Regions from separate parts of the Homo sapiens genome. Here region 1 is linked to region 2. The links are contacts of gene promoters, found by promoter capture Hi-C in blood cells and fetal thymus (Javierre and others, 2016). All regions are on one chromosome and are shown on one strand. Each heading gives the region's core, a stretch centred on a gene start or on the middle of the fragment in contact. The rest is flanking DNA. Distances are from core to core; before and after follow the strand shown.

The links. The method cuts DNA at HindIII sites, captures the fragments that hold promoters and counts their contacts. A CHiCAGO score of 5 or more calls a contact.
Region 1: a contact is called between a fragment that was not itself captured here and the fragment with the promoter of RFT1 in region 2, in 7 of 17 cell types (M1 macrophages, M0 macrophages, M2 macrophages and 4 more). The highest score is 9.9, in M1 macrophages.

The regions. Positions count from the first base shown.
Region 1 is chr3:53,210,372-53,213,261 of GRCh38, reverse strand. No RefSeq gene overlaps it. Among named protein-coding and RNA genes, the nearest start is that of TKT, 44 kb to the left of the region's middle. The HindIII fragment of the contact is 318 bases long and covers 1,482-1,799 here.
Region 2 is chr3:53,128,397-53,131,781 of GRCh38, reverse strand. RFT1 (RFT1 glycolipid translocator homolog) reads left to right here and starts at 1,347. Exons shown (of 13, transcript NM_052859.4): 1 at 1,347-1,444. The coding sequence starts at 1,382. RefSeq lists enhancers at 942-991, 1,002-1,201, 1,242-1,291, 1,302-1,491. The HindIII fragment of the contact is 8,425 bases long and covers 1-3,385 here.

The sequences.
Region 1 (2,890 bases), core at 391-2,890, 81 kb before region 2:
AACCAGTAAATATAATGCAAATATTCCAAAGTCCAGAAAGATTCTAAATCCAAGACATTTCTGGTCCCAAGTGTTTTGGATAAGGGATACTCAATCTGTATTACATTTATCTCATTCATTCAGACTGTTTGACTTGCCAATTTAAATCAACATAAACAGAGTCTTCCACTTAACAGTTCGTTTGAATTCATCTGATGGCCAGTAAGCACATGAAGAGATGTTCAACATCACTAGTCATTAGGGAAATGCAAATCAAAACCATAAGATACTACTTCACACTCACTAGGATGGCTTTAATTTTATTTATTTATTTATTTTGCGACAGGGTTTCACTCCTGTCACCCAGGCTGGAGTGCAGTGGAGCGATCTCAGCTCACTGCAACCTGTGCCTCCAGGGTTCAAGTGATTCTCCTGCCTCAGCCTCCCCAGGTAGCTGAGACTACCGGCACAGGCCACTGTGCCCAGCTAATTTTTGTATTTTTTGTAGAGACGGGCTTTCACCATGTTGCCCAGGCTGGTCTTGAACTCCTGAGCTCAAGCAATCCACCTGCCTCAGCCTCCCAAAGTTCTGAGATTATAGGAATGAGCCACCATGCCCGGCAGGATGGCTCTAATTTTTTAAAAAAACAACGGAAAGTAACAAGTGTTAGCGAGGATGTGGAGAAACTGGAACCTGTGTACATTGAAGAAATGTAAAATATAAATGAAAAAGGCTGCACCCGCTGTGGAAAACCGTGTTGCAGTTCCTCAAAAAGTTAAATATAGAATTACCATATGACCTAGCAATTCCACTGCTAGGAATATACCCAAATGAACTGAAAGCAGGAACTTAAATAGGTCCACAGCAGCATCATTCACAATAACCAAAAGGTGAAAGCAATCCAGGAGTCCATCAACGGGTAAACAAAACGTGGTACATACACACAAGGGGATATTATTCAGCCTTAAAGAGGGAAGAAATTCTGGCACATATTACAAAGATAAGCCTCAAAGACATTGCACTAAGTGAAATAAGCCAGCCACGAAAGACATATACTCTGTGATTTCACTTATCTGAAGTACCTAGAATAGTCAAATCATAGAGACAGAAAGTAGAATGTTGGTTGCCAAGGTCATGGGGAGGGGAGAATAGAGAATTATTATCTAATACAGTTTCAGTTTGGGAATATGAAAAGTTCTGGAGGATGAATGGTAGTTGATAGAGTTTGGATATTTGCCCCCTCCAAATCTCATGTCAAATTGGAATCTCCAGTGTTGGAGGTGGGGCCTGTTGGGAGGTGTTCGGGTCATGGAGGCAGATCCCTCATGAATGGCCTGGGCCATCCCCTTGTTGATGAGTGAGCTCACACTCTGAGTTCACAGGAAATCTAGTCATTTAAAAGTGTGTGGCCCTCTCCTCACCCCACACAGGCTCTCTTGGCTCCTGCTCTGGCCATGTGATGTGCCTGCTCCCACTTTGCCTTCCACTGTGATTGTAAGCTTCCTGAGGCCTCCCCAGAAGCAGATCCAGGTACCATGCCTCCTGTGTAGCCTGCAGAACTGTAAGCCAATTAAACCTCTTTTTTTATAAATTACATTGCCCAGTCTCATTGCCATTTCTTTCTTTTTTTCTTTTTTCTTTTTGAGCCAAGGTCTTGTTCTGTCATCCAGGCTCGAGTGCAGTGGTGTGATCATGGCTCACTGCAGCTTCGACCTCCACAGCTCAAGTGATCCTCCCACCTCAGCCTCCCGAGTAGCTGGGACTATAGGTGTGTGTCACCATGCCCAGTTAATTTCTGTATTTTTTGTAGAGATAAGCTTTTGCCATGTTGCCCAGACTGGTCTTGAACTCCTGGGCTCAAATGATCCTCCTGCCTCAGCCTCCCGAAGTGCTAGGATTGGTTGCACCATGAAATATACTTAATGCCACTGAATTGTACACTTACAAATGTTTAAAATGGTAAATTTTATATTTTGTACATTTTACCTCACAAAAAATTCATTTGAAATTATTTGGAATCAAAATTTTTTATTCTTTCATATATATATATATATATATATATATATATATATATATATATAAAATCATACATGAACTTGCATAGAACAAGTGGTTGTTGAGTGAATGAACAAATATTTGTTAAATTTCAGCTAACCAAAGCTAACTTCATTAATTTAGTCCCTAACTATGTCTGAAAAGACTGAAGAGACTTTTAATTTCACCTTTGCAGAAGAGGAACTTTTTCTTTTCCAACTTTATATTGAATAATTTCCATTGCCAAAGTCCTGTGCTGAGGGGAACGCAAAAATGAACACGCCCTAGTTCATGTCCTCTAGGCCAGCAATTCCCCAAGCCTGGCTCATGAACAGAATGGGGAATCTTTTTTTTTTTTTTTTTTTTTTTTTTTTGTAGATGGAGTCTCACTGTGTTGACCAGACTGGAGTGCAGTGGTATGATCTTGGCTCACTGCAACCTCTGCCTCCTGGGTTCAAGTGATTCTCCTGCCTCAGCCTCCCGAGTAGCTGGAATTACAGGTGCCCGCCACCATGCCTGGCTAATTTTTGTATTTTTAGTAGAAGACAGGGTTTCACCATGTTGGCCAGGCTGGTCTCAAACTCCTGACCTCAAGTGATCCACCGCCTTGGCCTCCCAAAGTGCTGGGATTACAGGCATGAGCCACCATGCCCGGCCAGAATGGGGAATCTCCACATGTCGCAAGTCCTAGGTCCAAGACAAAACCTTTCTGTGGCTTTCTTTAGCATAGAAAAGACAGGCTGAAATTCTCAAAAAACGGTTTACTAAACCAAAAGAAAACAAACAAAGAAAATAAACTTACAGAGTACCCAAAGTACAACATTAATCAGACTTTCCACCAATTTCTAAACTTCCCAAACCAAAACAGTGTCTTTC
Region 2 (3,385 bases), core at 98-2,597:
GCTGGAAGCCCAAGATCAAGGTGCTAGCCAGTTTGGTTCCTGTTAAGTGTATGTTGGGCGCCTTACATTTTACAAAGCCTTCTTCGTGGTTGCAGACAGCTACATTCTTGCTGTATCCTCAAATAGTAAACACAGAGATCATTTTTCTGACATCTCTTTTTATAAGGACATGAATCCCATTATGACGGCTCCACTTTCAGGACCTAATTACTTCCCAAAGGCCTTACCTCCTAATACTATCACACTGGGGATTAGGCTTCAACATATGAATTTTGAGGGTACACAAACATTTAGTCCACAGCAGGTACCAGCTGTGGTTGGCCAGGAAAGTCAGGACAGTGTGGTCTAGGAGGGCAAGGGGTGCTGTCAGGGAAGACACTTTGGACAAAGAGGGTGGAGGAGCAAAGGCCAGTGAGTCACCGCCTGTTTGAGGACCAGTAAGGACTCGGAATGGCTATGGCCTAGATAGTGTTGGGAAGGGCAATGATCGTGTGAAAGGTAGTAGAAGATAGGTTGGGGCCAAATCATGTGAGGACTGAAAGAGATTGGGGAAAGACTGGGCTTCCTACAGCCTGCTTGGTAGATAATAAGAACACTGACAGAACAGCAGCTGATTGTGTATGTTGGGCGCTTTACATTTTTTTACAAAGCACTTCCAGTCCTTCTTCCACTCTGCCCTCACAATTTCTAGCATACAGGCAAGAGTGATAAGTTTAGGATCAGGAGCCTGGTATCCACTTAGTCAGGAAACAAGTTGTGTAGATTCGAACAAGTCACTTCCCATCTCCAAGGCTTTACTCATCTCTAACCACAGGGGCCAATTCTCAGAGCTTTCGGAAGGATTTCACAAAACCATACACATAACAGTGCTATATCTAACTTCTGGTCCTCAGTTCTTTCTCTGTTAAATGAGGACAATTCCTGTCCAGCCTAATTCAGAGGGTCTGTGGCTGTGATTCTGTAAGCAAAGGTCAATGGTGAGAATCTTCTTAACGGGCCAGTGAGAAGTTTGTTCCCCTTTTGGCAGATGAGGCCAGGAAAGTTAGTGCTTCTTGGTTGGTGGCTGAAAGCCTCAGAGAAGGAACTTTGGATTCTTTAACGGTATCTCTTAGTACTCGCCACACTATTTCGTTTATACGGGGAAGAGAGGGACAGACAGCGCACAAGCGACAGACAGCGCAAAACCTACCGAAATAGAAAGAGCCAGGCGCCATAACAGACGGCCCGAGACAGGCCCACTTAAAGGACCAGAACTTCTCGTGCCCCGCCCCCCTCTCTCAAGGCCATCAATCAGACAGCGAGGCGCGCCGTGACGCCATCTTATCGCGACTAAACGGAGTGGCGGCGGCATTTCCTGGTGTCTGAGCCTGGCGCGGAGGCTATGGGCAGCCAGGAGGTGCTGGGCCACGCGGCCCGGCTGGCCTCCTCCGGTCTCCTCCTGCAGGTACTCTCTGCCCTTCAGGTTCCAGCTTGTACTGCAGCCGGGATTCGCGGGATGGCAGCCCTTGGGCCCTTGAGAGCCTGCCCCAGGGCCGACCCAGTCCCGAGGTGGACCCCGCAATGGAGGGGGTGGGGGGGTCGACCGGAGACGGTGGCATTGATGAGGGGGGACCCTGGCCCGGAGATAGGAGCCTGCCTTTAGAGTCTAGGCCGGGTGACTGCAGACAAGCCGCTTTCCTTCTGAGCATTCTATTTCCCATATGGCAGTAGGAGTGAATTAGATCAGGTGGCGGGGGTGAGGGACTGGTATTTCGTGCTCGAGAATCTGATATTTTTCAGGCAAGGGGTTCATTTCCTTCATCAAACACCTTCCTCAAACTTTGAGTCCCACTGAGTTCCGAGAGTCCATATGGCATAGCTAAGAAGAGAAATCTGGAGTTAGGCTTGGATTGCTCCGTGACCCAGGACAAGTGACTTCACCTGCAGAGCCTGAGTTCCTCACTAGTAAAATGGGGGTAATAATATGTCGTACTTAGCTCATAAGCAGGGATTGATTGGGATCATTCAAATAAACGTACTTAACACAGTACCCGGCTCTTAGTATGCATTTAATACATGTTGGCTGCATCTTCTGTTTATGTGATCTTGGACAAGTCACTTCCCTTCTTGGCCCTAATTTTTGTCATCTGTCAGGTATGATACAGGCCAGTTAGTCCAAATGGTATCTGAAGATTCTTTCAACCCCAGGAGCTGAACCTCTTAAGTCAAGTGGCTCAGTATCTCTCTGTCTCACTCTTGAGCCAATCAACCCTACTTCACACAAGTCCCGAATCTACCCTACCCCTTATCTTAGAGAGGCACATGGAGGGCAGAAGAAAGAACCAAGCAGAATGGGGCTTGAGTTTGGGCCTTGTCACTTGCTAGATGCCTGCCTTCGGGATAAATCCGATGACTTCTGTATCAGTTTCTTCATCTTAAATGAGAATCATAGTGCAACCTCACAGGGTCATTAGGAAGATTAGATGAAATCATGCCTCTTAAGTGCCTGGCACACTACAAGTACTTAATAAATGTAGCTATTTTTATTAGGGTAATAAGTATTTTTAAAATAGTCAATGTAGGAATGAAATGAGATAACCTATGGAAAGCATGTTGAAGAGTGCCTTGCACGTGATATGTGCTTAGTAAATGTTAGCCATTCTAAGTTTACCTAGGGATTTTTTTTTTCTGTTTCACTACATAAATAACTGAGTTTATTGTTTTATCCACAATGTTGGTTTTTTTTCAGCCTTTGATAATATCTTACTACTCAGATAGGCTTCATAAAACGAAAACAAGTTATAACGGAAAACACACTGGACTACGAGTCAGGTGGCTTACCTGTAAGGTCAAGCTGGGTCATTTACTTGCCGTGTGACAGTGAGGAAATCACTTAACCCTCAGTCTTGCTTCCTGTGCATTTACCTCGTTGTTTTTAGTGTCAAATAATTTAACAGATGTGAGAGAGCCTTTTTGTTAAAACTGTAAAGTTGGCTGGACGCGGTGGCTCATGCCTGTCATCCCAGCACTTTGGGAGGCCAAGGCAGGAGGATTGCTTGAGCTCAGGAGTTGAAGACCAGCCTGGGCAACATGGTGAAACCTTGTCTTTACAAAAAATACAAAAATTAGATGGGCGTGGTGGCATGCACCTGTAGTCCCAGCTACTCAGGAGGCTGAGGTGGGATGATCTCGAGTCTGTGAGGTTGAGGCCTCAGTGAGCTGTGATTATGCCACTGCACTCCAGCCTGAGCAACAGAGTGAGACCCTGTCTTAAAACAAAAGCTGTAAAGTTCTTTGCAGAAGTAAATGAAGGCTGTGTTGCTAATAAGGACTGCAGTGTGTGGCAAATACTGGGTGGCGTAAGCAACCTCAGTTTCATTAGCTGCAACCTTTATTCAAACCAATT